Regions from separate parts of the Homo sapiens genome. Here regions 1, 2 and 3 are each linked to region 4. Evidence: promoter capture Hi-C in human tissues and cell types (Jung and others, 2019). All regions are on one chromosome and are shown on one strand. Each heading gives the region's core, a stretch centred on a gene start or on the middle of the fragment in contact. The rest is flanking DNA. Distances are from core to core; before and after follow the strand shown. Region 1 overlaps LOC105371767 (a long non-coding RNA gene). Region 2 holds the start of LINC02079 (long intergenic non-protein coding RNA 2079). Region 3 overlaps FBXL20 (F-box and leucine rich repeat protein 20). Region 4 holds the start of CACNB1 (calcium voltage-gated channel auxiliary subunit beta 1).

The links. The method cuts DNA at HindIII sites, captures the fragments that hold promoters and counts their contacts. A contact is called where the count stands out against the background at its distance.
Region 1: a fragment that was not itself captured here is called in contact with the fragment with the promoter of CACNB1 in region 4 in 1 of the 25 tissues and cell types used here (dorsolateral prefrontal cortex).
Region 2: a fragment that was not itself captured here is called in contact with the fragment with the promoter of CACNB1 in region 4 in 1 of the 25 tissues and cell types used here (aorta).
Region 3: a fragment that was not itself captured here is called in contact with the fragment with the promoter of CACNB1 in region 4 in 4 of the 25 tissues and cell types used here (adrenal gland, mesendoderm cells, spleen and 1 more).

Annotation. Positions count from the first base shown.
Region 1 is chr17:39,009,055-39,011,754 of GRCh38, forward strand. LOC105371767 (a long non-coding RNA gene) reads right to left here. Exons shown (of 3, transcript NR_188621.1): 3 at 1-648. Among named protein-coding and RNA genes, the nearest start is that of LINC02079, 17 kb to the right of the region's middle. The HindIII fragment of the contact is 4,299 bases long and covers 1-2,700 here.
Region 2 is chr17:39,025,830-39,028,529 of GRCh38, forward strand. LINC02079 (long intergenic non-protein coding RNA 2079) reads right to left here and starts at 1,281. Exons shown (of 2, transcript NR_135645.1): 1 at 1,219-1,281; 2 at 886-1,116. It overlaps LOC105371767 (a long non-coding RNA gene), which reads right to left and starts at 1,868. Exons shown (of 3, transcript NR_188621.1): 1 at 1,721-1,868. The HindIII fragment of the contact is 3,115 bases long and covers 1-2,700 here.
Region 3 is chr17:39,364,828-39,367,527 of GRCh38, forward strand. The region is part of intron 1 of FBXL20 (F-box and leucine rich repeat protein 20); the gene reads right to left. Among named protein-coding and RNA genes, the nearest start is that of FBXL20, 35 kb to the right of the region's middle. The HindIII fragment of the contact is 6,030 bases long and covers 1-2,700 here.
Region 4 is chr17:39,196,259-39,198,958 of GRCh38, forward strand. CACNB1 (calcium voltage-gated channel auxiliary subunit beta 1) reads right to left here and starts at 1,411. Exons shown (of 14, transcript NM_000723.5): 1 at 1,154-1,411. The coding sequence starts at 1,237. RefSeq lists silencers at 609-738, 1,169-1,568, 1,579-1,708. The HindIII fragment of the contact is 14,403 bases long and covers 1-2,700 here.

The DNA of each region.
Region 1 (2,700 bases), core at 102-2,601, 190 kb before region 4:
TGGAGGGCATTTATTTTATTATTATTACCTTATTTATTTTTTAGAGACAGGATATCACTCTGTCACCCAGGCTGGAATGCAGTGGCACAATCATGGTTCATTACAGCCTCAACCTTCTGGGCTCAAGTGATCCTCCTGACTTAGCCTCCAAGTAGCTGGGACTTCAAGTGCATCCCACCATGCTCAGCTAATTTTTAGCTTTTGCAGAGACTGGGGGGTGGGTCTCTCTATGTTGCTCAGGCAGGTCTTGAACTCCTGGCCTCAAGCCATTCTCTCATCTTGGCATCCTAGTGCTGGTATTATAGCTGTTTTGAGCCACCATGCCTGGCCTCTTTTATTATTTTTCAATGTGGAAAGTAGAGATGAGAGAGGACAGGGGCAATGGTGGGGTTTGTTCCTGGGTTCACAGCTCTGCTGTCACTGTGAGGGAGCTACAGAGGTGGGGAGGGGCAGACCAGGAAAGCAGACCCCTGAAATACAATGTCATTTGCAGATCCAGCCTCTTGTTTTCCATCCTGGACATTCTTCCATTACCAGGCAGCCAACACTTCCCAGGCTGTCCTGGGACTCGCAGTTCTGTCTACCTGGGCACAGTTTCAGGCTCCAGCTGGCAAGGCAGCCCCATCACTTTCTGCAGAGGAGCATGTGCTGGAATAGGAGACAGTGAGATCACAGGAATTCATTAGCATCCCATATTCATTTTCTTTTCCTTTCTAGGCCTTCTCCCCAACCCTCTACCCGACACCCACCTCAGTCATTTTTTTTTTTTCCCTTAGAGTAGCTGGGGGAATCTGTCAAAGCCAGTTCAGGAGCTTGCCTTTTCTGGTGTCTTTTCTAAAACTACGGCATTCAGCCCTCACCAGATGGGAACCTATCAGCTCAGCAGGCAGATAATTATTCTTTCAAGGGTGGGAGGCCCTACCATGAATGGAAATTCAGGCATTTCTGCAGCTGAGGCCCCAAAGCCCCATCATGGAAGCAGTGCACATACAGCAGACAAGCTTTACCTGGGCAAGTCTGCAGGAAGTGCTGGTCAGTGGAGGTGCGAGGAGTGAGATATAGGATGGATTCGTGTTCCCTTCCCCATGAAGCAGTGTGGAACCCACTGGACCCACTCCTGAAGTCTCTCCTTAGGGACCAGTGCAAGCCAGCCCAGTTTTGGTCTGGCTGAAGGGGGTCACCTCCTCTGTGAGGATCCAGAACTCAAGATCAGATATTAGGATGCACAGATTTCTCCTCATTTGATGGAGGAAAATTCTAATAACCAGCTGCCAACAGTGGAGCATGCTGCCAGGAAGGTAATGAGCTCCCTGTTGTTGGAAGTATTCAAGCAGATGCTGGCTGGCCACCTTCCAAGGATATTGCAAAAAGAAGACCTGACATGAATGAGAGTTTGCCTCTTATGTCCTCCAAAGTCTCTTTACCTTTATTGGTTCTCATGGTGTAAAGGGTGAACTTGGAGTCACCATAGGCCCAGGGTTCAAGTCCTGGCTGTACAGCTAGCTGGCTAGATGGCCTTGGGCAAGACACTTAATTTCTTTATGAAATTATATAGGTATATTTTATTTTTCTGATAATGGGTGATAATTATAAAAAAAAAATTTATTGGCCAGGTGCAGTGGCTCGCACCTGTAATACCAGCACTTTGGGAGGCCAAGGCAGGTGGATCACAAGGTCAGGAGACCGAGACCATCCTGGTTAACACGGTGAAACCCTGTCTCTACTAAAAATACAAAAAAATTAGCTGGGCGTGGTGGCGGGCGTCTGTAGTCCCAGCTACTTGGGAGGCTGAGGCAGGAGAATGGCATGAACCTGGGAGGCGGAGTTTGCAGTAAGCCGAGATAGCGCCACTGCACTCCAGCCTGGGCGAAAGAGTGAGACTCCATCTCAAAAAAAAAAAAATTATTATGGACACTTTCTATCCTAATATGTACAGTTTTAATGTATCTTTTTTAATTTTTAATTTTTGTGGGTACATTTTTAAATTTTGTGGGTAATTTTCTGGGTACATATATACAGTAGGTGTATATATCGGGTACATGAGATATTTTGATACAGGTATATAATGTGTAATAATCACATTAGGGTAAGTGGGGTATCCATCACCTCAAGCATTTATTCTTTGTGTTACAAATAACCCAGATACACTCTTTTAGTTATTTTATTTTTTTTTTTTTGAGACAGGATCTTTCTCTGTCACCCAGGCTAGAGGGCAGCGATGTGATCACAGATCTCTGCAGCCTTGACCTTGCTCAAGCAATCCTCTTACCTCAGCCTCCAGAGTATCTAGGACCACAGGCGCCTGTCACCATGTCTGGCTAATTTTTGTATTTTTTGTACAGTTGAGGTTTCACCATGACGCCCAGGCTGGTCTTGAACTCCCACGTTCAAGCAATCCTCCTGCCTTGGCCTCCCAAAGTGCTGGGATTACAGGCGTGAGCCACCATGCCCAGCCTTCTTTAATTATTTTAAAATGTACAGTTAAATTATTATTGACTATAAGTCATCCTGTTGTGCTATCAAATAAAGATCTTATTCATTCTTTAACTATTTTTTTGTACCCATTAATTATCTCTGATAGGATAGGAGGCAGGGAAATTCTGGGCAGAAGAGGGCAGGTCCCTGGTGAGGGCCCCGTCCTCAAGCCTGGAACTGCAGTGCAAAGTGAGAACATGCATTCCTGTTTTCCTGCTCAAATGT
Region 2 (2,700 bases), core at 181-2,680, 170 kb before region 4:
TGTAGTCCCAGCTACTCTGGAGGCTCAGGCAGGAGGATCACTTGAGCCCAGGAATTCCAGGCAGCAGTGAGCTATGATAGTGCCACTGAACTCTAGCCTGGGTAACAGAGTGAGCCCCTATAAAAAGAAGGAAGGAAGGAAGGGAAGGAAGGAAGGAAGGAAGGAAGGAAGGAAGGAAGGAAGGAAGGAAAACAAGTGTGAGATGAGGAGATGAGGAAACTTTCAGAAAAATGCTCTTATTTTCTGCTTTTAGAAACCAAAAGATGAAATGGTAAGGCATCAGGTGGGAATCAAAGTAAGTTCAAAGATGGAATAGAGACCACTGGGCTAGTAGACACTTCACATTAGAAGGTTGCAGTGAGCCTAGCCCGCGCCACTGCACTCCAGCCTTGGGTGACAGAGCGAGACTCTGTCTCAAAAAAAAAAAAAAAAAAGAATGTCTCATCATGGGGTACTACCATTATACGCAGGATTTTTTTTTTTTAGATGGAGTTTCACTCTTGTTGCCCAGGCTGGAGTGCAATGGTGCGATCTCGGCTCACTGCAACCTCAGCCTCCCAGGATCAAGCGATTCTCCTACCTCAGCCTCCCCAGTAGCTGGAATTACAGGCACACACCACCACACCCGGCTAATTTTTTGCATTTTTAGTAGAGACGGGGTTTCTCCATGTTGGTCAGGCTAGTCTCGAACTCCCGACCTCAGGTGATCTGCCTGCCTCGGCCACCCAAAGTGCTGGGATTATAGGCATGAGCCACCGCGCCCGGCCTGTGCAGGAAGTTTTAGAACGAAAAAGATTCTGAATTGATCCTTGCTAACTTTATTTCAGAAAGTGGTAAAATAGCTGTGAAGTACAGACCCAGTGAAGAGATTGTAGGTGTCAGATGTAAAGAAGAACTACACGGTTTAATTCAAGTATGTGGAGATAAAAACTCACTGGTAACATAACCAGCGTAAACATAATTCAAAACAAGCAGCAGAATTTGGAGGATAATTTGTTTCATTCTCAGGAAAATGTGAAACTCTGAAACTGCTTTTGAGTGCAGGGTATTTCTGGGGCTTTTCCTGAAGTCTTGACCCATGTCTCTGACCCCTTATTTGAAGTTTGGAGAGCAGAACTGAGGACGGTTAGAGTATTACTACAGTTGTGGACACAGGAAAGGGGTTAGTCTCCCCCCACCACCCAGGAGTAAAGGGTGCTGGGCTGCTTGAACACAGACCTTTTAGAATTCCCTTCAAACAGGATCCCAAATCTTTCCTCGCTAAGGGGAGGGGAGGGGTGTTCGGAGGTGGGGTGGGACAGGAAGTGGGGTTTGGATGGGATTGTGGGATAAGATCGCGGAGCGGATCTGGACCCGAGCCTAATAAAGGCGGTGTAAATACAGGTGTCATAAAGGACGGGGCGGGGCGCGCGGTTGTCAGGGGCGCAAGCGTCTCGGGGCTGCCAGAATGGCTCCGGCTCAGGGCGCGGCGCCAGCGCCTGTCATGTCCCAGCTGCGCCTCTGGGTCCCACGGCACCTCCTCAGGTTGGCAACTACTGTGGCTACTAGTCCAGGAGGCTCAGCCTCTGGAGTGGGTCCAGGACCGGCTCCAGCCGACTTCCGACCCTCTGGGGCCGACTGAGCCCTGGTTTTCCTGCTCCCCCAGTCTCCCACCCGAATCTCCCTTTGCGCTTACCCCCGACCCCCGCCCCCACCGGCAGACCCCGGGGACTTTGATTACCTGGGGTCCTCTGCTTCCTCCCAGATGTCAGCTCCGCCTCAGGAATCGACTGAGACTTTGACCGAGACTTTGGTTCCATTCCTGGACACAGATTCAGCTGGAGAGCTGGCCCCGGGGCCAGAGCAGTTAGCGGCTGCACACCAGGACCTGAATGACAAGCTGACTTGGCAAGAAAGGCTCCCAGAGGGGGTCTCAGTGCTGGACTGGGATCAGAAACAGACCTTTGCTCGGCCTCCTCGCCTCAAAAGTAAGGTTCATACTGCAGATCTAGATCAGGCTGCAGATCATCAGGCAAATTAAATACTTTACTTGTTCCACCTCTAGATAGTCAGAATTCAGGCCGGGCGCGGTGGCTCACATAATCCCAGTACTTTGGGAGGCTGAGGCGGGCGGATCACGAGGTCAGGAGATAAGAGACCATCCTGGATAACACGGTGAAACTCCGTCTCTACTAAAAATACAAAAAATTAGCAGGACTTGGTGGCACGCGCCTGCAGTTACTCGGGAGGCTGAGGCAGGAGAATCGCTTGAACCCGGGAGGTGGAGGTTGCAGTGAGCCGAGATCGTGCCACTGCACTCCAGCCTGGGTGACAAAGCGAGATTCCATCTCAAAAAAAAAAAAATAAATAAATAAATATAAAATAAATTAAAAAACAAAATAAAATAAATAAGATAGAATTCAAAAGCAACCAAGTTTACTGTTTCGCCCAAGAACCTGAACAAAGATCTAGCTAAGTATCTGAAGCTTGCTAAGGTTGTTGTGTGGAACTCCACACCTATTTGTATCAAAACCTCAGTGTCAGAAACAAACTTTGCAGGATGAGTATTTAGATTCAAGTATGGATACAGTGTATCGCAGCAGCCTGCCTCCAGAACTCCAGATGAACTCAGATGAGCCTCCAGGGCCCCCTGAGAGAGTTGGACTTTCTCAATTCCATGTAGAGCCTGAAACTCAAAATCCAGAGACCCTTGAAGAGATC
Region 3 (2,700 bases), core at 26-2,525, 170 kb after region 4:
ACGTAAGCCCCACTCAAGTCACCAAATGACTGCAGTCTTATGAGCGACCTATTGGGGAGATGGCAGGACCGTCAGGCTGCATAATGAATTGTTTTAAGCCACAAAGTTACAGGGTGGTTGTTAAATAGCAAATACTACAAAAACAGGTTCTCTATTGAAGAAGTTTATGACTCACGATCTAAATTTCATAGATTAAGAAATTTAAAAAAAGAAATTTCATAGATTAAGCAAAATTTCTAACATACAAAGGTAGCCCAATACAGGTCAAATCTTTTGGTGGTAGGAAAATGTTAATGAGAGATTAAGAATCAATTTTCATTAAAAAAAATCCAGAGTTGAAGCTGCAGAAGATTTTTTAAATGTGTATTTTTCCTATAAGTAATTTTTACTGATTATGCCATTCCTTCATTCAACCAACACCAGATGTTTTTTCCAGTTGGCCAGTTTTCTTGCCCGAATCTAAAAGGAAAAACATTTTTGTTTGGCCAGATAAACCTAAAACAAAGTAAGTTTATAATTCCTCCGCCCAACATCTTGTCCCTAGCAGAAATAAAATTGCTTTTTAGAAGCTAACTACTGCCAGTGCATTGCCGTCTCATGACTAAACTTCTCCTAAGAAAGAAATCACTAGATAAAAACATTACGGAAGGAATACATTTAGCTAACAGACACATTACTTAATAGGTCAAACTTTCTGCTTTGGACACCTTCTAACATCTGACTCAATATTCTGAGCTTTCTTTTATGCTGACTTCTGTTTCATTTACTTAACCCAAACCTATGTCCACTACCAATTCACTGCTCTCAGTCCAAAAATAGAGCATCTACACACTTTTATTTTTTTCTTTTCAGTATTTTTAATTTATTTGACATTAACCATCCTCAGCAACAGTCTAGGACCTGGAGGATTCCATGAACTCTGAAGAACTGAATATGACTGAATCTCATGTTGAACTGGTGCTGCTTAATCCTGGAAATGTTCCATGCCCTACTGAAAACTTCTTTTGAAGTTATGAAGTGAAAGGAAAGAAACTAAAATTCAAAGTGACAATATTATTTCATGTCCACCTCTCCTCCTCCTTCCTCCATTTCCCTTAGTTTCACTTCATCTGTAACACAGGAAAGAACTAAGAGGTGGATACTAAAAGACAACAACGGAATTTAAAAAAATTTTTTTTTTTTTAGAGATGGGGTCTCGCTATGTCTGAAGTAGACTGGCTATTCACAGGAGCGATCATAGTACACCCTCAAGCAATCCTCCAGCCTCAGTCTCTAAGGTAGCTGAAATTACAGTACATGCCACTGCTTCTGGCTGTATTCAGTGTAATTTTCTCACAATCTTTGTTTAAATTAAGCGTCCGTGTGAATATTTAGTATTTAGATACTACTCAGTGTCAGGACAAGCAGACAATAGGACTATGGACTCTTTCTCACCCTACATATAGGCTATCATATTTTTTTCTACTTTCTAGACTCTTTTCCCTCAACTGCTCCAAAATCTGTCACATCTGAATATTTTCCATATGCTCAAATGCATCAGATACTGTTTTTCTCTGGTGCTAAACATTCCCAGAACACTTTCTTTTCCTACACTCTAAGAAATTCCCTAGACTGGCTACACAACTGTCATCTTGGGCTCTCCAGTAGCTCTTCTCTTTTATTGCATTGTTTCCAGTACCCCATATTGTCTCACTTGCTTTTTAAGGGAACATCTCACAGTAATTTATGAAAAAACAGCTCATGGGAACTCAGGTTTTTAAGTCTCTTGCATGTCTAAAATATGTATTTACCTTAGACTCACATCTGATTGATAATTTGGCTTGCAATAAAATTATAAGATGAAAATCCTTTCCACTGAAGATATCTGAAGACACTGCTTGATGCATTTCTGACCTCGTAAGTTTCTGCTGTGATATATAATGCCATTCTAATTTGGGGTCCTTTGAATGTAACCTCTAGTTACTTTTGGAAGCTTTTAGTATATTCTCTTTATCCTCAGTTTACCAAAATTTCATCATCAAGCCTCTTGGTCTGAGGTTATTATTCTATCAGTCCTTTTTTTTTTTTTTTTCCTGAGATGGAGCCTCGCTCTGTCAGCCAGGCTGGAGTGCAGTGGCACAATCTCGACTCACTGCAAGCTCTGCCCCTGGGTTCACGCTATTCTGCTGCCTCAGCCTCCCAAGTAGCTGGGACTACAGGCACCCACCACCACGCCCAGCTAATTTTTTGTATTTTTTAGTAGAGACGGGGTTTCGGCGTGTTAGCCAGGATGGTCTCGATCTCCTGACCTCAAGATCTGCCTGCCTCAGCCTCCAAAAGTGCTGGGATTGTAGGCATAAGCCACCGCGCCCAGCCTATCAGTCCTTTCAATCTAGAAGTTTATATTTTTCAATCTGGTAAATATTTTGGAAGTTTTTCTGGTTTCTCTGTCCTCTCATTGTAGAATTCCTATTAGTCAAACATTGGACCTCCTGGTTTATCTTTTTCTTTTCTTTTTTTTTTTTTTGGAGATAGAGTCTCACTCTGTTGCCTAGGCTGGAGTGCAGTGGCGCAATCTCGGCTCACTGCAACCTCCAACTCCCAGATTCAAGTGATTCTCCTGCCTCAGCCTCCCAAGTAGCTGGGATTACAGGCGCCCACCACCACACCCAGCTAATTTTTATATTTTTGGTAGAGACAGGGTTTCACCATGTTGGCCAG
Region 4 (2,700 bases), core at 161-2,660:
GACATATACCCCAACTCAAGTTGTGATGCTCCCTACAAACCTAGGAGGATCACCCAGTGAATCCCAGACACCACCCTCCCCCACCACTGCCAGGCTGGGCAAAGGGAGTGGCACTCAGAGGGACAGGGGACAGCTGAAAGGAAGGCCCCAGTCAGCTGCCTCCCAGGCTCAAAGGGGCCTGGGGTGGAGGAAGGTATTTTTAGGTCTGACTTGACCCCTCTACATACCCATCAGTCACATTATCATGGTGGTTACAGCTGGTGGCCACAGTAACAGAAGAGTTAATGCTATCCTTGGAGAAGGACACTCCCAAAGAAATCCCCTGGCGCGACCATCCCAGAGCCTGCTGGTCACCCCATGAGAACCCACCGCGCCCAAGAATGCCACTTCCTGGGAGTAACCAGGGGTGTAGGAAAAGTGTGCGGGTGGGGATGGAGAAGTAGACCCCTCCCCCAGGTAAAACAGCTTCCCCCCCTCCTATGAGTTGGCATCCATCCAACTTTCCAAACTTTGGAGGCGTTTTTGGGGCGGGGGTGGGGGTGGGGTAAGTCAACGTGGGTGTGGGGGGAGGGGAGCAGGTCCGACATAGAGATGGAGCCCAGGTGGCTGGGAGGGGACCTCGACCGGGGTTGGCTCTTTCCCCACCCTCGAGAACCAGTGTCTGCGGCTTTGAAGGCCTGTTGGCATTTGGCACCGCCCTCTGACCATCGCCTCGGCCACCTCCTCGTGCCACCCCCGCCCCACCCACACCCGCCTGGCGCCCCCGAGCGTGCTCTGCGTCGCCCCCCTTGCCTGGCTCGCTTTCTAGCCTCTTTCAACCTCCCCTTCTCAAGGCCCAGATCCCCCTCCACCAGCACCCCCACGCTCAGCCCACTGAAGCTGGTGCCCAAGCGGCAGGAACCTTGACGCGGGGGAGATAAGGAGGCGAGGGTGACAGGCAGCCCACCCGCCCCCTCCCCGCTCCGCAGCATCGCCACCCAGCCCCAGGCCCAGCGCCCATCAATCACAACCTGCAAGGATGGGGGGCGCGCAGGCATCCCTCTCTCCTCCGCGCCCGGCATATAACCCCTTCCTCTCCCGCGCCTCTCGAGCCGACCTTAACACGGTCCGCGGGAGCGACCCCCTCCCGTTGGGCCGGGCCACCACGCCTCACCTGCGGGCTGGGGTCGAAGACCTCCATGGGGATCTCCTGGGAGGGTGGGTAAGGGCCCCGGGACATGCTGGTCTTCTGGACCATGGAGAGGAGCCTCCCCTCCCGCCGCCGGCCCGGCCCAGCCGGGCTCCCTCAGCGCATGGGAGAGGCCGTGGGAGCCGAAAGCAGCGCGGCGCAGCCAGCACCCGGTCCAGCCACCCAGCTCGGCCTTCGGCTGCCTCCTTCCTGCCTTCCCTCGCTCCTCCCGCTCTCTCCACTGCCGCCGCCGCCTCCCCCGTAGGCTCAGCATCTCCCCGCGCCCCTCCCTCGCTCCCTCCCTCCGCCCGCCCGGCCCCGCCCCTCGCAGCCCCTCCGCCGGCTCGGCGCACACAATGGGCGTGCGGCAGCAGGGAGGCAAGCCCCTCTCGGCTCTAGGTGGCCGCAGGTGGGCCTCTGACTGGCCGTGGGGTGCAGGCGGCCCGCTGGGGCGGGAAGGCAGAAACTAGGCGTGGAACTTGGGGGAGGGGTGGGGGGGCGGTCTACCAGTGGATGCCGAGCGCTGATGGGGATTGGCATGGCTGGCACCACCCCCCTTTTGTCCCAAACCTCTCTTCCTGCGGGTCCCCCCAACCCACTCCTGTTTGGACCACCGGAACTTCCCGGTCCCGGTGATCCTGGGACCTGGCTTTAACTCCTTTCTCCCCAGTGTGGGGCCCAGGCTGCCTCAAACCAAACAGAAAAGCCTCTCCCTCCAACATGGCTCTGGGGCTGCCGGTGGGAGGCTGAGGCTGAGATGGGGAGGGTGTCCAATAGAGACAGCAAAATAAATCCCAGGGGTCCAGGAGTTCTGCCCTAATCAGTCACTAGGATACACCGCCCCCCCAACCCCTGTTCTTCCAAAAGGCCAGGAATGGGGCTGGGTGAGGTCCCTGCTCTTGGATGAGAAAAGAGGAAGAAATATGGAGCTGAGAGAGGAGAAGCTGGTAAAATCAGATCTCATGACCTTTGACCTAGAATTGCGCCACCTTTACCCCTGATTTAGGGAGAAACATCCAAGATCTGGATGCCACCCACCATGACTGGTGGAGAGAAGAGGAATAGGAGATTCTGGGCAATAGACTCTGGCGCCAATTTGGCTCAGGCTGTTTCTGGTTGTATAGCCCCGGACAAATCACCTCTCTGAGCATCAGTTTCCTCCTCTCCTATAAAATGGGGTTGCTGGTACTGTGGAGTCTGTGTCACCTGGTATTATTGGGAGGATGAGGGAGAATTAAATGAATTGCTGGGGTGTTTGGAGAAGCTGTAAGTTTCAATGAAGGGGTCACTCATGACAGGAGGACCCATTCCCTTCCTACTCCACCCCTTCTCCTGCTCCACAGAAAGGAGAGATGGAGAAGACCCTCTCCAGGTCAAGTGACCTTACAATAAGGCCACCACCTTGCTGTGTTCCGCAGGACAGGAGACTATGGGACTCCTCCTCCTCACCCAACTCTAATAGCAAGTGAATGGTCAGTCTGTCATTCCTCTGATCACAACACCTTGGGGAAGGCGGAGCAGTGAGTGAAGAT